3 separate regions of the Homo sapiens genome follow, and all the other regions are linked to region 2. The links are contacts of gene promoters, found by promoter capture Hi-C in blood cells and fetal thymus (Javierre and others, 2016). All regions are on one chromosome and are shown on one strand. The core of a region is centred on a gene start or on the middle of the fragment in contact, and the rest is flanking DNA. Distances in the headings are between cores, read along the strand shown. Region 1 overlaps HDAC4 (histone deacetylase 4). Region 2 holds the start of HDAC4 (histone deacetylase 4). Region 3 has its middle 91 kb from the start of LINC02991.

Evidence for each region. The method cuts DNA at HindIII sites, captures the fragments that hold promoters and counts their contacts. A CHiCAGO score of 5 or more calls a contact.
Region 1: a fragment that was not itself captured here is called in contact with the fragment with the promoter of HDAC4 in region 2 in 11 of 17 cell types (naive CD8 T cells, naive CD4 T cells, activated CD4 T cells and 8 more); the score reaches 13.0 in naive CD8 T cells.
Region 3: a fragment that was not itself captured here is called in contact with the fragment with the promoter of HDAC4 in region 2 in 1 of 17 cell types (neutrophils); the score reaches 9.0 in neutrophils.

What each region holds. Positions count from the first base shown.
Region 1 is chr2:239,139,072-239,141,771 of GRCh38, reverse strand. It overlaps HDAC4 (histone deacetylase 4), which reads left to right. Exons shown (of 27, transcript NM_001378414.1): 9 at 1,976-2,088. Among named protein-coding and RNA genes, the nearest start is that of HDAC4-AS2, 53 kb to the left of the region's middle. The HindIII fragment of the contact is 407 bases long and covers 1,183-1,589 here.
Region 2 is chr2:239,399,725-239,402,424 of GRCh38, reverse strand. HDAC4 (histone deacetylase 4) reads left to right here and starts at 1,405. Exons shown (of 27, transcript NM_001378414.1): 1 at 1,405-1,447. HDAC4-AS1 (HDAC4 antisense RNA 1) reads right to left here and starts at 989. Exons shown (of 2, transcript NR_135575.1): 1 at 889-989; 2 at 68-350. RefSeq lists an enhancer at 197-326 and silencers at 457-726, 997-1,116, 1,137-1,576, 1,587-1,756. The HindIII fragment of the contact is 12,493 bases long and covers 1-2,700 here.
Region 3 is chr2:239,667,867-239,670,566 of GRCh38, reverse strand. No RefSeq gene overlaps it. Among named protein-coding and RNA genes, the nearest start is that of LINC02991, 91 kb to the right of the region's middle. The HindIII fragment of the contact is 7,126 bases long and covers 1-2,700 here.

The DNA.
Region 1 (2,700 bases), core at 137-2,636, 260 kb after region 2:
CTCCCCAGGCACATGCGTGAGGGTATTTATCTGACGACACAGCTGGGAGGCACCCATTACAGGGAAGATCTGCTGGATCTTGGTGTGTAGCTGGAGACAGCTTGACATCAGAGAGCAGGGGTCTAGGGTGGGCTACGGTGGGCTGCAGGTGGGGCAGAGATGGGAGAGTTGGAGGGGCCTGGAGAAGGCGGGTCCTGCTTTCTTGAGTGAAATGCAAACACTGGCTCAGCCCAGGTGGCATTCTCAGAATGCCCACTCACAGTGCAAATAACATGGCCTCGGCAGCGGGAGAAGCCTACCTCTGGAGTTAGTGTCTGGTGGAAGTGAGAGGGTGAGAGGGCCAGGGAAAGAAAGAGGATGGGGTAGGGTCGGGACCCAGTCCTGTATTCATGCTCAATGCCCAGGACAGTGAGCTGACCCCACACTCTTTTGAGCTCCAAGAGCCATGGGGAGCGGCTGGTGTAGGGCTTCTGGGTGGACACCCTGGTTTGCCCTTGGGAGGTTTAGACTGCCCTGCTGTTGAGGGCAAGATGTTCCCAGGGTGTTCCTGGTGGGCAGCGTGGTCAACAGAGGAGGTGCGCCTTCACCACCCAGCTGGGTTAACTCTGGTATGCAGACGCCCATGACAGTTCCCTCAAGCCACGTGGCCTGGGACGAGTGATGTTGCTGCTCCATGCCTCCATCTCCTCTTCTGGGAAACGGGGTCATAATGGCACCTTCCTCAAACAGTGACTGAGAGATGGATGAGCTAATAAAGGCAAAGTTTGGAATCAGGTCTGCCAGGTTGGGGGAGCTGTGGGTGGCTTTACCTGTTCCCCCACCCTCCTCATCCTCCTCACTGTGGCTCGGGGCTATATTTGCAGAGTCACCACCTCCAGCAGGCGTGGATACCACGTGAGTCAGCATGAGTGGGCACCTGCGTCCTCGTGGGCTCCAGGAGGACGCGGGCAGCAAGCAGACCGTGGAGGAGGCTTTGCTGGGGATGGCTCCGTTGAGGGGCTGCTTGGGGAAAACATCCCTTAACCTCCCCTCCAGGGCCCCCACCATGTCCCTTCCTTCTGACCTGTATGCGCTGCGCATATAGGTTGGGGCGAGGTTCTGAGCACCCAGAGTCGTTGCTGAACAGCAGACGCCTAGAGTTCTCGAGGCAAATGGGTCACATTGTGTTTTCTTTGGAAAGCTTTAACCAGATGATGCCATTGTTAAAATGCCGTTAAACTAAACATATGACAAGCCAAACAAATCCTTGTGTGAATATCGAGAGCCTCAGCGGCCTCCCACGGTGGATGTGTGTGCCCAAAATAGCAGCAGACCCCTTCAGAGGTGAAGGGATCTTTGGATTGGACGTGGCCCCTTTTGGAAGTCACATTCAGTCAGAGCGGAACCTGGTCTCATTAACCAGGGTCAAGCCGCACCGATGGTTAAAGATCCTCTAAGACTGTCCGAGCGTGTGTTTTCCAGTAGCACGGATAGATCTCAGGAGACACTGGCTATATTTTCCCCTGGATGCTTGCTGCTATGTAGGGAAAATGAGAGGATTCAGCTCAGAGTGAACACTAATAGTAGGTTGCTTTATTTTGAACTAAGCTTTTTATAGTGAGCACAGGAAAGCTGACCTTTTGCTTTTCAAAGTCACTTAGCTTCTGCATTTTCTGGTCTTCTGTTGTTAGGTCACTAATAAGTGTTTAAGGATTTATCTTTTTGGTGTTTAAAATTGTCTTGAAAATCAAACGAGGTATAAAATTGGTAACGTACATGTCCTAGAAAAAGTGAAGTCAGTGGCAAAACTGGAAAATCAGAAATCAGCATCATACTTTCTTTTTTGAAACCATGGCCATGTTCTTTTTGTTGGGACTTCTGCCTGTCGCAAGCTAACGAGCAGGTCCGTGGAAGGCACCGGGCATTCGGGCCACAGGTCAGCACGGCCCTCCCTCCGCATGGAGTAACACTCACCAGGGTATTTCTGCCTCCGCAGACTCCGCGTGCAGCAGCGCCCCAGGCTCCGGACCCAGCTCACCCAACAACAGCTCCGGGAGCGTCAGCGCGGAGAACGGTATCGCGCCCGCCGTCCCCAGCATCCCGGCGGAGGTCAGTGCGAAGCGTTTGTCCTGTGTCCTACGGCTAGAGTCGGACTCGGGACGGATGAGCTTGAAATGACCCCACTTTGCACTTGCCCTTCACTCTTCACCTTCCAATTTGGGGTGAGGGAAAGTGGCCTGTGAGCCATCCTAAAAAGGACGCAGTTGGAGGTTACTCTCCTGCCTTCCTCTCATCACAGACATCTCCTTTCATTATGAACACGCTAGTTCCAGGCACGTCGGGGACAGCCCTGAGCCTGGTCCTTTCTCCTGACCTCTTCCAGAGCAGATGTCACTAGATGGTGTCCCAGCACAAGCCCACGCATGGCAGGTGCTCTAGGTGGACAGGATCCCTGCTGCCCAGCTCGCTGTGGTCGCCAGTGCTCTGAGGGTGGCTGAGAGGCCGTGGGCACGTGGGTATAGTTGCTAAGTGAGACTTAACATTTTTTATTTTGTATTGAGAAATACACAACACGATGTCGGCCAACAAACTATGTGTCAGGGCCGACTGGAGCGTCACCCGTGGTCAGCATGGCAGGGCCGGCCAAAGCCACAGAGCGGGGAACTTTTCCAGGCATCACGGGAACCAGGCATCTCAGACCGCAGAGCTCAGCACCCCTGG
Region 2 (2,700 bases), core at 156-2,655:
AAGTTTAGCCTAAGCATTTCTTGCAATGACCAAAGTTTTCTAATTATTAATGAGATATTTAAGGAAATGTAAAATTGGCATTTTTATTTTGCTAACTGTATTTTTATCCACATAACTAGTTTCCCCCACCAAGAATCACAGGTCGAGAATGCTGTAAAAACGGATCCTTTCTCAGCTCCTAAAAGGAATGGCCTACAATCGAAGCGAACGCGCATCTCCGCCAGGTCCGCAACCACAGGCCCACGCCGTCGGGCCCCACGAACCGGCGCGCGCTGTCAAAGGCGCTTCCTCCCTGGAACGCGGGATTCCGGGGACAGTGTGTGCACTCAAGTTGAAAAGTTGTCATACTCCTGTTGGAAAGAAACGGAAACATCACCACCAGGAGGGTGGCCACTGAAGACCCTCGCCGACACCTGCTGGCAACCAAAGGCGCTTCCGGGGATCTACGGGCCGACCTGTAACTCAACACAAGCCTCCCAAGCCCTGCGGCCTTAAAACAACGCCCACCCGGGCGGTGCGCCGTTCCCGCCACCTCCACGCCTGCCTGGACCCGGACTCGAGACCCTGGCGGCGGGCCGGGCTCCCTCCGCCTGAGCAGGGACGCGGCGAGCGCATCCCACGACCCTCGGCAGCCGTTGCAGGCCTGGCGGACCTACACCCCACACCCTCACGGCCGCGTTCCCGCCGCGGGGCAGGGCGAGGCCCACGGCGCCTGCGCACTCAGTGACCGGGCCGCCCTGCGCCTCCGTGCGCACGCAGCACCACGTGACCCACTGCCAGTATCCAAGATGGACGCCGCGGCGAGGCCTGGCCGGCTCCCCGCGTTAGCCTGCACCCCATTGTGTGCCCTCTAAGCGCGAATTAGGCTCGCAGACATGCGGTGCTGACCGCTAGGCAGCCATGCGGGCTACCGAGTGCGACCGGACACGGCCGGGGCCCGTGTTTACGGCCACTACTGGCCCCCGGTCCCTGCGCCTCCTCAACCGCGAAGCACCCAGCGGCTGGCGCCTGGAGCGTCTTTTGGTACGCCCCACCCTCTAGAATTGGCAGCTCCAGCAGCCAATGAGGTCCAGGACGCGTGCGGGGAGGCGGGCAGGGGTGGAGCCTCTCTGCCGCTCATAGGGCATCCGGCCCCGCGGTTGAGCAGCCGCTGGGCGAGGGGTGGGAGCAGACGGGCTGTGCGCAGGTTTCAGCGGGCCAATGGAAGGCCGGCCAGGCGCCCGGGGCGGGCGGGCGGGAGGCGGGGCCGAGCCGTAATTGACGAGCTCTTCATTAGAAACCAGGCGGGAGGGCGGGGCCCGCAAGGGGAGGTGACGCAAGGCTGCCGCAGCCAATGGTTGGCGAGCCGCCGGCTGGCTGGGCGGGGCCGGGCCGGCTGACGGGCGTGCGGGGTGGCCTATCGCCGCCTGGCTCGACGCTGGAGTGGGGAGAAGCATCATGGTTCAACGTGGGTCAATTTTTTGTGAATGAGGAGGGGAGGTTGTGGGGCCGCCGCCGCGGAGCACCGTCCCCGCCGCCGCCCGAGCCCGAGCCCGAGCCCGCGCACCCGCCCGCGCCGCCGCCGCCGCCGCCCGAACAGCCTCCCAGCCTGGGCCCCCGGCGGCGCCGTGGCCGCGTCCCGGCTGTCGCCGCCCGAGCCCGAGCCCGCGCGCCGGCGGGTGGCGGCGCAGGCTGAGGAGATGCGGCGCGGAGCGCCGGAGCAGGGCTAGAGCCGGCCGCCGCCGCCCGCCGCGGTAAGCGCAGCCCCGGCCCGGCGCCCGCGGGCCATTGTCCGCCGCCCGCCCCGCGCCCCGCGCAGCCTGCAGGCCTTGGAGCCCGCGGCAGGTGGACGCCGCCGGTCCACACCCGCCCCGCGCGCGGCCGTGGGAGGCGGGGGCCAGCGCTGGCCGCGCGCCGTGGGACCCGCCGGTCCCCAGGGCCGCCCGGCCCCTTCTGGACCTTTCCACCCGCGCCGCGAGGCGGCTTCGCCCGCCGGGGCGGGGGCGCGGGGGTGGGCACGGCAGGCAGCGGCGCCGTCTCCCGGTGCGGGGCCCGCGCCCCCCGAGCAGGTGGGCTCCGGGCCGCCGGGAGTGAGGGCGGGGGCGGGCGGGCGCCGGGGCCGGCCGGGCGCCGTTTATGTAACTTTGTCAAATGCTGTGAGTTTGCAGAAAAACGTCCCTGCCGGGGGTCCGCGGCCCCGCGCTTGTCGTCGCCGCTGCGAGCGCCCGGGGGGTCGCGGGAGGGCGGGGGGCTGCCCGGGACCCGCTCGGCTCAGCCCGCAGGGCGCCAGCAGGCCGAGACGGGGCCCGGTCCCGCTCGGGGGTGGGATCCGCGTTTGCCGGCGTTGCGAAAACACACCACGGAATCATAAGCAAATTATCTCGTATTTACATTGAGCGTTGAATTATTTGACACTGTTATAGGAGGAGACCGTGCGTATCAGTTGGAAAGGCCGGGGGTGGAACCCAGTGTACTCATTTAATGCACATCAAAAATTTGTAATAACTTGAGGCAGCTGATATGAGTGTTTTCTTTATTGCATGTTGTAAATTGACCTGCTGTGACACAGTTTTCAAATAAAGCGTTGCAGAAATTAAACTTAAGTTATTTTAAAACTAATGACTTTCTTCACTAAATCCTAATTGCATGACTGTAGAGACCTACCTAATTGCTTGCTGAGAGCAGTTCTGCTTGCTCTCCGTGAGGGAGGAAAGGGCCTGT
Region 3 (2,700 bases), core at 24-2,523, 270 kb before region 2:
CAGAGGACCCTCGGGAGGCAGATGCAGCTACAGCAGGAGACGGCACATGAGGCAGAGGGAAGAGAAGTGTCCTGGCACCTCAACTTCTTCTGTCTTATCATCTTCCAACTGTTCCTCCGTGGCTGAAACTATCCAGAAATCAGAGGCAGAGCCTGGGGAACTGCAGTTCCTTACAGCACAGGCCAGGAGCAGGGTTGGGCATGGAGCTGGGCATCCAGCGAGGAGCCACCATCCCCGAGTTCTTCATCCTCACTCGTCTCATGTTCGCCCTCCCGCCCAGTTCCACATCCGGCTCCGCGTCCCTTACCTGCTCCTGCACAGCCACCTTCTGGCCTTGCTTGGGGAGGTGGGTGCCCCATGCTCGGCATCCTTGGCCCTGGCTGGGCTGGCAGACACCAGAGAAAAGCAGCAGGAAAGGGGCCTGCGGCACATTCATCCTCTAACTCCCTCCTCACCTGTGGCAGCTTTGCAGCGGCATCCTCTCCACGAGCTGAGGGCCTCAGTCCTGCCTGGCATCCCTCTCCCACGGTGGCCACAGGTCGCTCTCACCACCCCGCCATGTCACTGTTCTCAGCCCCAGATTTCTCTAACTCTGCCCCCACTTCTGACCAGGGCCCTTCATACACTCAGTCACCTCCTCTGAGGGCGCTGCCTGGTGTCCTGTGGGGCCCCGGCTGAGACCAACTTGCCCAGTGTTCTTCAGAGACAGCCCCACAGGGCACTAGAGGGAGGGAAGGCTTCCCAGCCCAGCCTCATCACCCTCCCGGCATCCCCTCTCTGGTTGCCACCCTCACACAGGGCACACAGCTCCCAGATGTTCCCTCCTTCCCCTTGTGGCGAGCCCTGCTTGTCAGCTCACTGCGGATTGCTAATTCAAGAAGAACCGTGGATGCTTCACCTCCCAGGGACCCTGCGTCCCCTGGGGCAGAGCCCTTACAGCCCATGCTCCAGCTGGGTTCATTCATAATTGGGGCCATCTGTGAGTACCAGGAAGGAGCTGGGAGACAGAGGGGACTCCCTCAGGCTCAGGCCCTTCTAGAAGCTGGCCCCCATGTCAGGAACTCAGACACATTTCTGTAGGTGCTGCATCCCCCTAGAGTTTGGGAGCTGGTGTTGCAAAGTGGGCGAGAGGCTGTAGTGTTGCAGCAGCCATTTCCAGGGAAAGAGGGAGGTTTTGGGGAGGGCTTGTCCACCCAGGAAAGCATGATGGCGTCCCCAGGGCTCCAGAGGTCTTGGTGTCGGGCAGGGCAGGAGGTGGCTGATGGCACATGGCTGCTGTCATCTCACCTCTGTGGTCTGGTTGACTTCATGTGCCACTGAAGAGGTGAGGGCTTCCCATACCAAAGGCCAAAGGTTGAACCTTTGCCCAATAATCCAGAAACTGGAAGCACCGCTAAGGAGAGCAGGGGCGTCTGCTCTGTGTGTACCCTGAGTTGCAGTGAGGCTCAAGGCTTTTCTAGGCAGTCGTGTTTAGCCAGAGCCTCTCCATATTTGAGGTGTGTGCATAAGTTAGAGCATGTGTGCAGGCCTGTGTGTGCATGTGTGTGAGTGTGCATGTGGAGGTGTGCTTGTGTGTATACATATATGTCAGTATATGCATGTATATCAGGGTGTGTGCATGCCTGTGTGTGTGTATGCATGTCTGTGTGTGCATGTGGAGGTGTGCTCATGTGTGTATCCATACATGTGAGTATATGCATGTGTTTGAGGATGTGTGCATGCCAGTGTATATACACATCTGTGTGTGCATGTGGAGGTGTGCTCATGTGTGTATACATACATGTGAGTGTATGTGTGTTTGAGGGTGTGTGCCTGCCTGTGTGTGCATACACATGCGTGTCTGTTTGCATGTGTGGAGACCGCAGCGTTATCCTATCCTCATCAGGTACAGAGTATAAGGAAACTGCCTACCCATATGCACTGTGTCAACTCATCCTCCTTCCAAGGTGCACGTGGGCAGGGTGTGCCAGCCAACCCCTCTGGACCAGCTTTTCTCTGCACTAGGAAACCCATGTAATCCCATCCCTTCTTCTGGGGCCTTGGCCTGGACCAGTTTGGTGAGAAGTGATTTAAACTCAAGAGACATTCAAATGCTGGAAATGCCCAGGCCTGTGGGCCCCTCTGGGTGCTCTAATCATTGTGTTTACTGAGCAAGCCATGGTAGGGGCCATGCGGGGCCCAGCCAAGGAGCACTGCCACCCGTTGCAGCCCATTCACCACTGTTGTCAGCAGGTCCTTTGCAGAGTTTGTTTCTCTTGGCTGGAGGAGGAGGGAAGGGAGACCGAGGGGTCTGGCTGAGGGAAGACAACACTCTCTGGAGAGCTCCTCCCTTGCCCGCCAGGCAGGAATTGCCGAGCTGTCCCAGAGTTGGGAATGGGCAAATTGTCTTCATCCAAAACCCATGCAGACGCCACCCAACCTGGCTTGGCTCTCCCATAGAGAAGCTAAAAGCAAGCCCCTCTTATACAGAAAGGTTGGCAGGGGCCCCGTGATGAACGGAGGTGGGAGGGGGATTGTTTGGGTCTCGACAACCAGGCAACAATCAAGTTTGTTTGTTTGTTTCTCTTCAAGACAAAATGCCCTGAGCAGTCATCTTCAGTGCTTGCTGTTCCGGGAATGCACAGGCTATTTTTACTGCACCCAAAAGAAAATATAAATTCTCTGTCTTCTGAACCAATGCCATTGTTCTGTGTCCGTGGA